Regions from separate parts of the Homo sapiens genome. Here all the other regions are linked to region 1. Evidence: promoter capture Hi-C in 16 types of primary human blood cells and fetal thymus (Javierre and others, 2016). All regions are on one chromosome and are shown on one strand. The core of a region is centred on a gene start or on the middle of the fragment in contact, and the rest is flanking DNA. Distances in the headings are between cores, read along the strand shown. Region 1 holds the start of DYRK1A (dual specificity tyrosine phosphorylation regulated kinase 1A). Region 2 overlaps TTC3 (tetratricopeptide repeat domain 3). Region 3 overlaps TTC3 (tetratricopeptide repeat domain 3). Region 4 overlaps VPS26C (VPS26 endosomal protein sorting factor C). Region 5 overlaps DYRK1A (dual specificity tyrosine phosphorylation regulated kinase 1A).

Region 1 (2,700 bases), core at 124-2,623:
TCACAAGGTGGCAAAATCAAGCTTAGAAATCAATTAGTGACTCTGCTGTAAAATAGTATATATATACACACACACTCTTTTTAGGTATACATTTATTAAATGCCATTAGAGTTGGTACAAAATACAATTTTTAGCTGGTGGCTCTCTACCGATTACAACGCAGCCAGCACAGCATACTTGGGTTTTCAAGCCTCGGGAGCTCACCCAGCAATACATAGCTAGGGAGAAGGGGTAGGGAGAATAAAAATCAGCGAAAGCCAGGATATTAATAAAGAGTTTTGATGGTTAAGGACAAGCAGGCGAATTAAGACTCTGGAAACCGAGAAGGTGTATAGAAAAGAAAACCAGAGAGCTGGACGACAAGGACACAGTAACAGCACAAGGGGATTCATCTAAAGGGCATTCCGATGGAGCAGGCAGGCTGCGCCCCGAAAGGTGGGGAGAGGTTGGAAGCAGATGGGCAGGCACAGGCGAGCGTGCACTGCCTGAAAAAGTTTTCATGATGGCTCCAGCCTAATTTCCCAACGCTGGTCTCGGGCGCCACAAAACCTGGGCGGCCCGACCGGAGCCAGGTGCCAGCCTCAGGGCCGCCGGGCCCGGCGCAGCGTCCGGAATTCCTGCGATGTCTGGGGCGCGGCGGTGGCTCCTCCCCGCCCCCACCACGGCCTCCGCCGGCATTTTCCGGCTAGGAGGCCCGCCAGCCCTTCGAAGAACCGGCTCCACGCGCGGACGGTCGCGGCCGCCGCGCTTCCCGGGGAGAGAGGCGAGCGCGGCGCCCGGACCGCGGTGAGAGCCCTCCAGGCCCGGGCGCGCGGGGTGGGCTTCCCGGGTCCCCGCCCGAAGGCCGCGGCGCCCCTCCTCCTCCCCCTCCCCCGCCCGGGGCAGCCCGCCCCTCCCCCCGGCGCGGGCGGGGCTGCGGGCGCCGACGCGGAAGCGCGGGGCGCTAGGGCTGCGGGGGCGGCGGCGCGGGAGGCCGCGCGCGCTCCCCGGGCCGCAGTCGGCGCGGGCGCGGGGCGGGGCGGGGCGGCCGGGAGGCGGCGGGCGATCGCGCACAGGCCTGGCCGCCGCCTCGCCCCCCCTTCCCCAGCCCCTACCCTCCCTCGGCCTAGCCGTCCCCCTCCTCTCCCCTCCCCCGGGCGAATCACGCGCCCTCCTCTGACACTCGTAGCGGACCCGAGCTCCGAATTTATCCTTCACGTGACCTGAGGGGGTTGGGTGGTTGGCTGGGGACAGAGGGGGAGACGGAAAGGAGGGAACGGAATCTGCCGTTACCTGAGCAACAGGCCCCGCCCGCCGGCTCGGGGCTGGGGGGCGGGAGGAGGACGTCAGCACGTCAGCCGGGGTTTTGCGTTTTGATTGACAGTTGCTATAGCGACCGGGTCGGTCCGTCGCCATTTTGTTGGTTGGTTTTTTTTTAAACCCTTTCGCTTCCCGCCCGAATAATAATAAAAAGCCCCATTGGAGTGAGGCGGGGGTGGCGGCGGCAACCGCGGCGGGGGTATCCGGGGAGACTGCTGCTGTCGCTGCTGCTGATCGCGGCCCAGGTCGGCCTCAGAGAGCGGACACCCCGAGCGGGGGGTGCGGGCGCCGCCGCCGCCGCTTCTGCTGCTGCTGTTCCTGCTGCTGCTGTTGGTGCCGCTGCCGCCGCCGGCGAGCAGGCGGGACCGGTGTGAGTGCGAGTGTGTGTGCGAGGGAGCGTGTGCGAGGGCGATTGTGCGCGCGAGTGTGCGGGTGTGTGCGAGTGTCTGTCTGTCTGTGCGGGGACTCGGGGGCGGGCGGTTCGGGCTCTCCTGGCGGAGGAGCCGCCGCCGCCGCCCGGGCCCCGGCGCTTCTCGCTGCGCAGGTTCGGAGCGCGCGCCATTTTGTGAGATTTACAAAATCCTCCTCGGGAAGAAGCCGCCGGCAGCAGCCGCCGCTCGGCGCCCGGCCTCGCCGACGCCGCCCTCTGCGCCGGGCCGGCCGTGCGGCCCCGCCGCCTGGAATCGGGGCCCGGGGACTGCGGTATTTGCCGGGGAGGGGGCTGTCGCCTCCCCGGCCCCGGGCGCCGCTGGAACCGCGAGCCGAGGAGAGACTGAGCAGGCTGCGGCGCGGCCAGGAGCCGGAGCGCCGGGGGCGGAGAGAGGCTGCCGGGGCGGCGCTGGCTGCGGAGGCCGCGGCGGGAGCGCGGCGCGGGAGCCCGAGGCTGAGACTCACCGGAGGAAGCGGCGCGAGCGCCCCGCCATCGTCCCGGTGAGTGTCCGGCCCGGCCGCGGCCCCGCCCGGCCTGGCGCTCGGCTCCCCCGGCGGCCCGCAGCCGGGCCGGAGCCGAGGCCGGCCGGGCGGAGGGAGGGACCTGCCATTTTAGGAGGAGGCGCCGCGGGCCCAGGGCCGGCCGCCGGGGGAGGGAGCCTCAGGCCGGGTCCCGGAGGAGCGGCGGGCGCGAGCGGAGGGAAAGTTGCGGAGGGTGGGAGCGGGGGCCGCGGCCTCCCGGGAGCCGGGGCCTGGGGGGCCGTAGACAGCGCCAGACCTTCACTGGCCGCCCGAGCGAAGGGGTGGAGGTTGTCTTCCTCCTCCTCCTCCTCCTCTTCCTCCTCATCCTCTTCCCCCAGCTCCTCCCTCGTCCCTCCTCTCGGTCCCCACCAGTGTGGGAACCGCCGGGGTGATTCGCAAGGACAATGCACGGGTTAAGAAAATGGGGCCGGCTGCCGGGTGGGCGAGGAC
Region 2 (2,700 bases), core at 157-2,656, 200 kb before region 1:
TAAAGGTGCTGGAGGAGAAGGTGGCTGTTTGTAGGAAAGTTCAAGTGCTAGCTGGAAGTGTAGCCTGCATCACAGTGCCTTACCTGCCAGTTACAGGAGGGCCCACCTGGAGGCCTTCCAGCGTGGGGTGCCTGCCCCATAGGACTTAGCGCATGAAGGAGGAAGGGAAAATGTGCTGGCAGCTCCTCAGAAAGAGAAGGAAAAAGGAAGACTCTGACCTACACAGGCCCAGCTTCTCCTGTCAAACCAGGGGAGGAATGAGAATGTTAAAAAGAGACAGCCAGGTAGAAACAAGAGGGATGTGTATGAGTTCTTTCCTAACAAGGAAGAGATGAAATCAAGATTCTCCTATGGTTGCCTTTATAGGGTATGAATTCATTAAATCCTTATTGAATTGCCCCACTCATTATGTTTTCTAGGAAGCTTTGAAAAAAATAGGTTAAGAGCAATGGATCATAATCATTTCCAGATATGCTAATTCTAAATAACTTTCCTAATATACATGTTTACGGAAAGCATGGAACATGATCTAAATGGGAAAAAAAACTTGAAAAAATTGTGGGTGTGTTTTAAAGTGTTACTACTTGATGGGCTTATTTTACTAGAGCGATTGAGATAAAGTGAATTTTATTTTTTGTTTTGCCCACAGGTATCTTGGAACATAATACACCAAGAAGTCAATACTGAGCCATATAATCCTTTTGAGGAACGACAAGTGAGTCAAAATTACATTAAACTGTTTAAAGGTTTAGTTTTCATTAATTTATCTAGATGGAATGATGAACTAGAACTATTTTGGAGTCAGCTTATTCCACACAAAGTTATCATGGAATAAGCTTGAGAACATAACAAAAAAATGATTTTGTTTTTATTGTTGAAATTTGAGAAGGGAAGGAAAAGGTAATTTTTTTCCAGCATACTTATTTCAAATTATAACAGCGTTATTGTTTTATTTTATTATTTTTAAAATTTTATTTATTTTTATTTTAATTATTTTTGAGACACGGTCTCACTGTCATCCAGGCTGGCCAGCTTTATTGTTTTAACTGGTATAATGAGCATATAATAATTTATAAGTAAGCTTATTCATGCGAATAATACAGAAAGATAAAGACCTTCTCTACTATAATAATGATTCAATTAGAAAACCTACTAATATAATTTAGTTCGTTAATATGCATCATAAGAGAAAAGTTGTCTTATCAACTCAAAGTTGCTGTAAAGGTATTGGATAAAATTCAGGTCACTGTCTTGACCAAAACTAGTAAGAAAATGGGAATTGATGAATATTTCTCAACATGCTAATATTTTAAGCCAAAAGCCATCATCTTGCTTAATGGTAAAACATCACCATTAATATTTATTGTTATCCTGGGTATATTAACTGAGAAAGCAGATATGAGAAAGAAAGAAGATAGAAAAGAGGAGATGTGAGTATCATTATTTACAGAGGCTAGGGCTGTGTACCAGGAAAATCCAAAATGATCAACTGAAAACCTACACTAACCTATATAAACCTATACTTGTATATAAAAATATATATAAACAATTACCTGTTAGAAAGTATGTTGAAAGAAAATATTTTCAATACCAAAAAAGAGATAAAATACTTAAATGTATATAAAGAAAAATTTTTAAATGCTATGGAGAGACACATAGAAGCCTTAAATGAAAAGATATTTCATGTACTTGGATAAGAACACATATTATGATAATGAGATTGGTTCTCCCTAAAGCTTTTTAAAATTTAACACAATCCCAGTATATACATGAACAGGGCAAATTAGTTATGTATATTGCTGTATATATAACAAACAACCTCAAAAGCTAGTGGCTTAAAACAGTAAAATATTTCACAATTGTGAAATCTCACAATTTCGCTAAGTCAGGCATTCAGGAGCAGTTTAGTTGGATGCTTCTGGAGATTCTCATGTAGCTAGCCAAGATGTTGACCAGGGCTTGGTCATCTGCGGGAGTAACTGGGCCCAGAGGTTCTACTTCCAAGATAGCTCACTCACATGGCTGGCAAGCGGATGTTGGCAGTTGTCAGGAAGCTTCAGTTCCTTGCCTTGTGGACCTCCACCTAGCCCTGCTTGACCTCATGGGGCTGGCTTTTCCCAGAGTGTGTGATACCAGGCAGAAGCGGCAGTGCTTTAGGAAGTCACAAATTATCACTTCTGCGCATTCTCTTGGTCACATAGATCAATCCACCAACCCTGATACATGGTAGGAGAGGTCTATACAAGGCTGTGACTAACAAGAGGCCTGGTTACTGCACAGGATTAATTTGAAACTAGACAAATTGATTTTAAACTTCATATGTAAAAATGAACATCAAGAATGGGTATGGAAGAGAAACTAAGAAAAGGAGTTGTGCAACTAAATATCAAAACACAATATAAATCTATCTATATTACCACATACATAGACCATTAATATGAGAGTGCCTGGCCAACATGTTGAAACCCCGTCTCTACTAAAAATACAAAAATTAGCCAGGTGTGGTAGCTTACCTGTAATCCCAGCTACTTGGGAGGCTGAGGTAGGAGAATTGCTTGAACCTGGGAGGCGGAGGTTGCAGTGAGCCAAGATCACGCCAGTGTACTCCAGCCTGGGCGACAGAGTGAGACTCCATCTCAGTCAGTCAATCAAGATGGTAGATTGGCTGGGTGTGGTGGCTCATGCCTGTAATCCCAGCAC
Region 3 (2,700 bases), core at 168-2,667, 160 kb before region 1:
TGTGTGTCCGTCATCCCAGCCCCCGGTTGGAGCCTGCTCTTTGAACTCCGCTGCCTTCCTTAGCAGCTTCTGTCCTCTTCTGTGAGTCAGTCAGCGAGTGCTTGGGATCCGCATCCAGCCGTGCTGAGCACACAACAGGCTGTGTGTGGAAATGGCCACCACCATTCTCCTTCCCCACCCCACCACAAAAAGAGAAGCTGTGTCTTTAGACAACCCTGAGGTATCTGTGTTACAATCGTTCTGTGTTTGATATTTGTGTAAAGTATGCATGCAGTCTTGTACTGTGACCTAAGAACAAAACTGTAACTGCATTAGAAACCATGAAAAAATTAGATATTGTTTTGTGACTTTTAGACAGTGGTAAATATAGAACCATGAATTCTGGTCACATTCCATTTCTCTCCAACATGAAGGATCAAAAAATGTTTTTCAATGTGTTCTTTGTTCCACTGGAAACTTAGAGTCATGAGTTTATGAGCTGATTTGGTCACCTTCCTCTGCCTTTGTTCACTGTGAGTTCTGATGTCTTAGTGACTTAGTTCTTAGAAGCTCACGCCTTAGTTTGAAACAGATTCTCCACGGTGGTCCCCAAAACACTGTCTGCATATCCATAAGAATTGAGCGCTATGGGTGTTAACGTGCATGAGGATCAGTTTGCAGCAGCAAGTACAAAAGGAGAAGAGGAACATCCGTTGAATGAGTGTGTTTTGTACATAACTTCAGATACTTGTGAACATGCCTTATATTTGTCCAACAACTGTCAGAATAAAGAACATTCTAAAATGAGAAGTTCACTGTCACTCTTGTCCATTCTTTCTTAGAGAAGTTTAAAAATGCATTCTTCTGGAAAACTTAGGACATGTATGTCATGCTAACATTTTAAGAGTGCTTTCGTCAGGAAAGAACAGCCACGCCATGCTGTGTCTGAGGAGTCTGACCAGGGATCTCAGGGCGTTTTAGGGCCTGGGTCAGAATTTTCCTTTGTGCCTGCGTAAGATCGACTATAGGAGTTCACACAGAGATGATAGAGTTTACTTCTTAAGGCTAAATTAAGAGATTTTTCATGTGAATACATATAAGGATGTTGAAGATAAATTGCATTCCTTGGTATATTTTTTGAGGCATTTGTGGATTTATGGGCCACTGAGGCTGTCGATGGGGTTTCCTCTATAGAGGGGCTTCTGGGTATGCTGAGCACTCACAGAGTGAAAGCTCATTTGAAGAAAGCTCATTTTCAAAATCTGTCTTCTGTTTTTTCAAGTGTATTCAAAGTATTATCAGTACGTATTTTTAGTCTGATGGCATTTAATTTAATTTAAAGCAATGACTATTCCTTAAGAATTTAGGCCGGCCGCGGTGGCTAACGCCTGTAATCCCAGCACTTTGGGAGGCCGAGGTGGGCGGATCACGAGGTCAGGAGATTGAGATCATCCTGGCTAACACAGTGAAACCCCGTCTCTACTAAATACAAAAAACTAGCCGGGCATCGTGGTGTGTGCCTGTAGTCCCAGCTACTTGGGAAGCTGAGGCAGGAGAATGGCGTGAATCCGGGAGGCGGAGCTTGCAGTGAGCCGAGATCGCACCACTGCACTCCAGCCTGGGTGACAGAGCGAGACTCCGTCTCAAAAAAAAAAAAAAAAAAAAAAGATTTTAGATTAGTTTTCCCTGCTGAACTGCTTAATCTATGTTATGAATAATGGATAGCCTGGTATAAAATTGAAGTGGTGCCCCAGCAATGCAAAATGTTACTACGGTTTTAAGGTAATCTCAAAGACTACAGAAGTGCCCCCACTTATTCGTGATTTTGATTTCCACAGTTTGTTACCCACGGTCAGCCGTGGTCTGAAAATAGGCAAGTACAGTGCAGTACAATAAGATATTTTAAGGGGGAGAGACCACACTCACATAATCTTTACTACAGTGTAATTGTTCTATTTTATTACTAGTTCTAGTTGTTCATTTCTTACTGTGCCTAATTTATAAATTAAACTTCATCATAGATACATATGTATAGGAGAAAACATTGCATATGTGGGGATTGGAATTTTCTGTGGTTTCAGGCATCCACTGGAGGTCTTGGAACATATCTCCCACGGATAAAGGATGTGTGTGTGTGTGTGTGTGTGCAGTCGCAGCAGGTGGTCAAAGTGCTCAACACACCACAAACTGAAGCAGTAAAACTATTTTAGAGTAGTTTTTTAGTCAGATGACTGGAGAAGGGAATTAAAGGAAACAGTAGAAGACACAATAGCAAAGATGGAAGTTCCTTCTGTCAGCCTGAGGTACTTACTCAGGAGGCTGAAAAAGCAGAGGCCGTAAAGTGATAGGATGGTTGGTCAGAATGAGGACCAAAAAGCATCTGCAGTATGACCTCAGAAAGAAAGAAGGTATCAGAAGGAGAAGCTGGGAGGGTATACAGATGAGTAAATTCCTGGTGAAGTGCTCAGCACAGTGCCTGCACACAAACTCGTGATAACCGGAGCTAACAACTAACTGTCACTAAGATTAAGGGCCTGGAAATTGCACAAGAAAGAGTAGGATAGTACAGTAGGAAAGCCGCCGTTAGTTAGGAAGTCCACTTCCTCAGTGTGGCCTGGATTGGAACACGATCCAGTGGTGAAAAGAGCAAGAAGAAATCAGATCACCTCAAAGTCGTTTTGGAAAATAACAGCTTTGTTCCTGAGATCTCCCTGAATTGAC
Region 4 (2,700 bases), core at 148-2,647, 130 kb before region 1:
GACAGAAAGGGCAGTGCGCTCAGGAGCAGACGCCAGGCCAGATCCCGTTGTTGTCTGCCTTACTGTGCGAGCCCAGACAGATAACACAACTTGTCTGAGCTTCTGCTTCCCTTCTGTAGAATGGGGCTCTTAAGACCCACCTGCAGCGAGACTCCAATGAGATCATGTGTGACAAGCACTCAGCACAGGGCTGGCACAAAGCAATGCTGGAAAACAGCAGCTACTTTGTAAGCGGGATTAGAAAATCCATGCAGTGAGGACTGCAACCCTGGGACAGCACCCAGCATGTCACAACCCTTCCTCGCTGGGCACCTGCTCTGAGTGCATAGCACTGCCCTGGGCACCAGAGCCAAGCTCAAGGTCACACCTGGTCCTCAGGGAACTTCTAGTTTACTGAATATGCAGTAACCCACACATCCATCAACCAACTTCCACAAGGGTCAACTCATGGCTAATCTTATTTCTCGAGACATCTGAGGTCTCTCTCCATCTGCCAACACACAGATGTAGCCTGCACCTCAAAGAAAAAGTGGGTTGGAAAACAATGTAGCATCGCACTTGCACACTTGCTTTTTTAATGTGGCAGAGCCGCATTCCATTTCTCTGCTGTCCCTAGGTTAGTTTTCTGAGCTGGTTGCTACCATGGTGCCTACTGCAAGGTGAGCTCTATTCCCCCAAGGGGAGCCCCACTGCAGAGCTGGTATTGAGCTTAAAGCAGGCTTTGAACGGAGACTGTTGCTTCAAATCCCTGTCCGTGAGCTGAGAGACTATTTAAAAATGTAATTCTACAGCAGGACCACTGTTGTAATGCCAGTCTTTAAAAAAAAATCACATAATCCACGTTTAATAAAGTTAGTTGTTGTTTTAATCGTCCAGGAAAAACTTCAGAATTATGTCAAAAATAATTTTCATAACTCGGACTCTATGCATAACTGAATCTTCCAAGAAGCTAATATTCGTATGAACAACCTGTCCGCATGAAATAAGAAGTTACTATATATATTTAAGGTACTACTGGGAGAGTAAAACATTGTTTAAAAGAATCATCCTTGTCTGCAAGGATCTTTATGTAGAATATATATACAATATATATATTCTTTTTTTGTTTTTTAATACGGAGTCTCACTCTGTCACCCAGGCTGAAGTGCGGTGGCGTGATCTCGGTTCACTGCAACCTCCACCTCCTGGTTTCAAGTGATTCTCTTGCCTCAGCCTCCTGAGTATCTGGAATTACAGGGGCCGCGCCACCATGGCTGGCTAATTTTTTTTTTTTTGAGATGGAGTTTCACTCTTGTTGCTCAGGCTGGAGTGCGATGGCGTGATCTCGGCTCACTGCAAACTCTGCCTCCTGGGTTCAAGCAATTCTCCTGCCTCAGCCTCCCGAGTAGCTGAGATTACAGGCATCCACCACCATGCCCGGCTAATTTTTGTATTTTAGTAGAGATGGGGTTTCACCATGTTAGTCAGGCTGGTCTTGACCTCAGGTGATCCACATGCCTTGGCCTTCCAAAGTGCTGGGATTACAGGTGTGAGCCACCGTGCCTGGCCTAATTTTTGTATTTTTAGTAGATACGGGGTTTCACCATGTTGGCCAGGCTGGTCTCGAACTCCTGACCTTAGGTGATCTGCCCACCTCCGCCTCCCAAACTGCTGGGATTACAGGCGTGAGCCACGGTGCCCAGCCCTGTCCATAGTTTTAAAGTAGATTCCTATAAAAGGAATTTTTAACTTTGAAAAGGGATGACTAGGATCTCTAGAAATGAGTGCTGAATATACAATTTCAGCAGACATGTTTTATGTGATAGGATAAACGCTTGCTAGCACAGCTACAAGAGTAAAGCAAGAGTAGAACAAACCTAATAAAACTTGCCTACAATTTAAATTATTGTAAAAAGAAGAAGTAGATGCACAAAGGGCAACTACGGAAGACTCTGATGATCATATGAAGTATCTAGTAACAAAGACAAACATGAACGCAACATGACTGAGAAGAATGTCAAGCTCTTCATCTAAAAAATGACAAGAAAGCCAAGCCTCTGGAAGTCAGGAATATAATACTGGCATTTGATACATATACATATATATGTGTGTATATGTGTGTGTATATATATATATATATATATATATATATTTTTTTTTTTAATTAAAAAATTTTTTTCTTAAGAGATGAGGTATTGCTATGTTGCCCAGGCTGGACTTGAACTTCTGGGCTCAAGTGATTCTCCTACCTCAGCCTCCCAAGTGGCTGGGTTTACAGGTGCATGCCGCTGCACCCAGCACGTCTATCTTTTAAATCCTTTATTCTGATTTATGATTTTTACCGTTTTAGATTGTTACAACACAATTCAATTTATGAATGAAAAATTTCTTGGCACATAATTTAAGAAAGATGATATTAGGGTTTAGCAACAAAAGTTTCTATCCAAAGAAATGTGCCTATGTTAACCTTTAGAGTAAGTGCGGTAAACAGTGCGGGCCGAGGAGTGCTGGTCTGGACCCGCAGGCTGAGGCTGGCCTGTGTGACCACAGGAAGTCACTGCCGTCTCTGGGCGGCACTTGCTCTACTATAAAACTGTAAGAAAAAGACCTGCCAAATAATGGCATGAATGAATGAATGGATGGATGGATGATGACAGATTTAAAAAAACATAATCTTAGTTTCTCTTAAATTTATTTTCTCAAAAGACGACAAATTTTGAT
Region 5 (2,719 bases), core at 113-2,612, 140 kb after region 1:
ATGTCCACACAGTAGATAAGTTACTTTGCTTTGTAGCCATCTAGATTATCAGATCAAAAAACATAGTATATAGAGGGTTTAGTCCTCTGCAGTTTCAGGCATCCAGTGGGGATCTTGGACTGTATCTCTTGTGGATAAGGAGGCACCACTGTACATGTCTCATTCACACATAGACATTTTATCTGTGATATAAATTCCTGAAAGCAGAATGACTGTTTCAAAGGGTAATGTGATTTATAATTTTGATAACTATTGCCAGATTGCCCCCCATGTGATTTTCTAATCCAGTAACTTGATTAACTTCATATAAAAACCATATAGTATTTTCTGAGAACTCACTGCCAGCTTTTCTACTGATTGTTTTCAGTAGTATCTCTTAAAAGTTTGGTTCTCAGACCACCTTTGTTGAATAAACCCTTAACAATTTGTGCCAGCCACTGGATAGAGACTGAGCCTTTTGCCTTCCTAGAGCTTACAGTGACACAAGTAAATAAAATGAACATGAAGAAAAATGGCAAGTAGCATTAGCTGTTAAAAAGAAAATAAGGATAATTTGGTAGAGAAAGACTGTTTGTTGGATAGGATGTATTAATTAGAATAGGCCAAACTCTGATATAACAGACCCCCAAAATATGGTAGCTTAAAGAGTACCAAGTTTCCTTCATTTTTGTGCAACAGTCCAGAATAGGTGTTCAGGTTAGTGGCTAGGCCGTCTTCCAGGTCCTGATCTCCTACCATCTTGTGGTTCCACCTTGCCCTAGGGCCTACTTGTCTACTGTGTCCAGCAGGCAGAAGGACTTGGGAGGTATTATCTTGTGTGCCAGGCTAGCAGTGACACAAGCTTTCATTCACATTCCATTGACAGCTTAGACATATGGCCATCAGTAAGTACAAGGGAGGCTGGGAAGTGTTGTGTAGCCATGTGCTCAGGAACGAGAAGAATATTGTGCACAACCAGTAGCTTCTGCCACAGTTGTTGAGGCAGCATCAGCCAGAGTGGTCAGGGAAGGCTCTGGAACTGAAGCGATGAAAAAGAGACATCCAAGCAATAAGAAAATCCAAGAAATAACATTTCTAGGCAGAAGGGAGCAGCGTGTTACTAGTACACTGAGGCATTTGAGAGATTTTGACCCAGGGGAGGAATGGAAGGCAGGTCTTCTTTGTTTGGAACTCAGGTAGCCAGGGATAGGATGGGTGGAGAAAGAGGTTAGAGAAGTGGGCATTGGCCAGATGATGCAGATCGTTGTATCCATTTGGGTTTATTTTGTTTTTCTAAGTGCAGTGAGAAGTCATTAAAGGATTTTAAATAGGGAAGTGATTGGATTTGTGTTAAGAAAAGATTGTTCCTGCTACCCTTTGGAGAAGGGCAAGGATGGAAACAAGGAGTTCATTTAAGGGGCTGTTGTGTTAGCGTAGGCAAGAGATGATGGGGATGAAGAGAAGAGGCCAAATTTGGAATCTGTTTCACAGGTAGACTCATAAGTTCTTGCTCATGGGTTGGACAGAGGCATTGTTGAGCAGCTAGGTAGATAGTAGTCCTTTATTGAAAGAAGAAAGATGGAGAGAGGAAGGACATGAGGGAAAAGTAAAGACTTCCTTTTGGACCTGCCCAGAATACTGTCCAGCCCTTTTCAGGAAATATTTGCTGACCCCTGGCATAAACAGGGCTCCCAAGGAAGGACAGTGGCTAGTGAAATAGATGAACCTATTTAAGGATATAACTTCCTAAAAATTGCAGCTTTCATGATGAAATTTTTTGCCCTTGAATGTATTTGGGATTTTGTGTTATAAAACTGTCTTAACACATTAAAAGTTTCAAAAACCGTTTCCCCCTGATTAATATGATGCTAGTTTGTTAGTGTCATGGCTTTTGATGGAAGATTAAAGCTTGGAAACAGTCCTCTGAAAAATCCTTTTAAAAATCTGTTCTTTCAGGTGCGTCAGCAATTTCCTGCTCCTCTTGGTTGGTCAGGCACTGAAGCTCCTACACAGGTCACTGTTGAAACTCATCCTGTTCAAGAAACAACCTTTCATGTAGCCCCTCAACAGAATGCATTGCATCATCACCATGGTAACAGTTCCCATCACCATCACCACCACCACCACCATCACCACCACCATGGACAACAAGCCTTGGGTAACCGGACCAGGCCAAGGGTCTACAATTCTCCAACGAATAGCTCCTCTACCCAAGATTCTATGGAGGTTGGCCACAGTCACCACTCCATGACATCCCTGTCTTCCTCAACGACTTCTTCCTCGACATCTTCCTCCTCTACTGGTAACCAAGGCAATCAGGCCTACCAGAATCGCCCAGTGGCTGCTAATACCTTGGACTTTGGACAGAATGGAGCTATGGACGTTAATTTGACCGTCTACTCCAATCCCCGCCAAGAGACTGGCATAGCTGGACATCCAACATACCAATTTTCTGCTAATACAGGTCCTGCACATTACATGACTGAAGGACATCTGACAATGAGGCAAGGGGCTGATAGAGAAGAGTCCCCCATGACAGGAGTTTGTGTGCAACAGAGTCCTGTAGCTAGCTCGTGACTACATTGAAACTTGAGTTTGTTTCTTGTGTGTTTTTATAGAAGTGGTGTTTTTTTTCCAAAAACAAAGTGCAAAGCTGCTTGAATCAGGAGGAGATTAACACACTGAACCGCTACAAGAGGGCAAAGCTGATTTTTTTTTTAACTTGAAAAGATTGCAAAGG

What was found. The method cuts DNA at HindIII sites, captures the fragments that hold promoters and counts their contacts. A CHiCAGO score of 5 or more calls a contact.
Region 2: a contact is called between a fragment that was not itself captured here and the fragment with the promoter of DYRK1A in region 1, in 1 of 17 cell types (endothelial precursors). The highest score is 6.8, in endothelial precursors.
Region 3: a fragment that was not itself captured here is called in contact with the fragment with the promoter of DYRK1A in region 1 in 3 of 17 cell types (naive B cells, total CD4 T cells and total CD8 T cells); the score reaches 5.5 in naive B cells.
Region 4: a fragment that was not itself captured here is called in contact with the fragment with the promoter of DYRK1A in region 1 in 6 of 17 cell types (total CD8 T cells, naive CD8 T cells, naive CD4 T cells and 3 more); the score reaches 7.3 in total CD8 T cells.
Region 5: a contact is called between a fragment that was not itself captured here and the fragment with the promoter of DYRK1A in region 1, in 1 of 17 cell types (activated CD4 T cells). The highest score is 5.1, in activated CD4 T cells.

Annotation. Positions count from the first base shown.
Region 1 is chr21:37,365,400-37,368,099 of GRCh38, forward strand. It overlaps DYRK1A (dual specificity tyrosine phosphorylation regulated kinase 1A), which reads left to right and starts at 1,374. Exons shown (of 12, transcript NM_001347721.2): 1 at 1,374-2,229. RefSeq lists enhancers at 1-835, 367-446, 1,760-2,684 and silencers at 587-766, 797-1,106, 1,687-1,836, 2,027-2,106, 2,347-2,486 and 1 more. The HindIII fragment of the contact is 3,979 bases long and covers 20-2,700 here.
Region 2 is chr21:37,166,906-37,169,605 of GRCh38, forward strand. TTC3 (tetratricopeptide repeat domain 3) reads left to right here. Exons shown (of 46, transcript NM_001330683.2): 34 at 650-715. Among named protein-coding and RNA genes, the nearest start is that of TTC3-AS1, 26 kb to the right of the region's middle. The HindIII fragment of the contact is 655 bases long and covers 1,080-1,734 here.
Region 3 is chr21:37,202,319-37,205,018 of GRCh38, forward strand. It overlaps TTC3 (tetratricopeptide repeat domain 3), which reads left to right. Exons shown (of 46, transcript NM_001330683.2): 46 at 1-789. Among named protein-coding and RNA genes, the nearest start is that of DSCR9, 4.8 kb to the right of the region's middle. The HindIII fragment of the contact is 4,696 bases long and covers 1-2,700 here.
Region 4 is chr21:37,233,750-37,236,449 of GRCh38, forward strand. All of the region lies in intron 3 of VPS26C (VPS26 endosomal protein sorting factor C), which reads right to left. Among named protein-coding and RNA genes, the nearest start is that of DSCR9, 27 kb to the left of the region's middle. The HindIII fragment of the contact is 3,584 bases long and covers 1-2,700 here.
Region 5 is chr21:37,509,976-37,512,694 of GRCh38, forward strand. DYRK1A (dual specificity tyrosine phosphorylation regulated kinase 1A) reads left to right here. Exons shown (of 12, transcript NM_001347721.2): 12 at 1,936-2,719. The coding sequence ends at 2,556. Among named protein-coding and RNA genes, the nearest start is that of KCNJ6-AS1, 7.3 kb to the right of the region's middle. The HindIII fragment of the contact is 1,046 bases long and covers 840-1,885 here.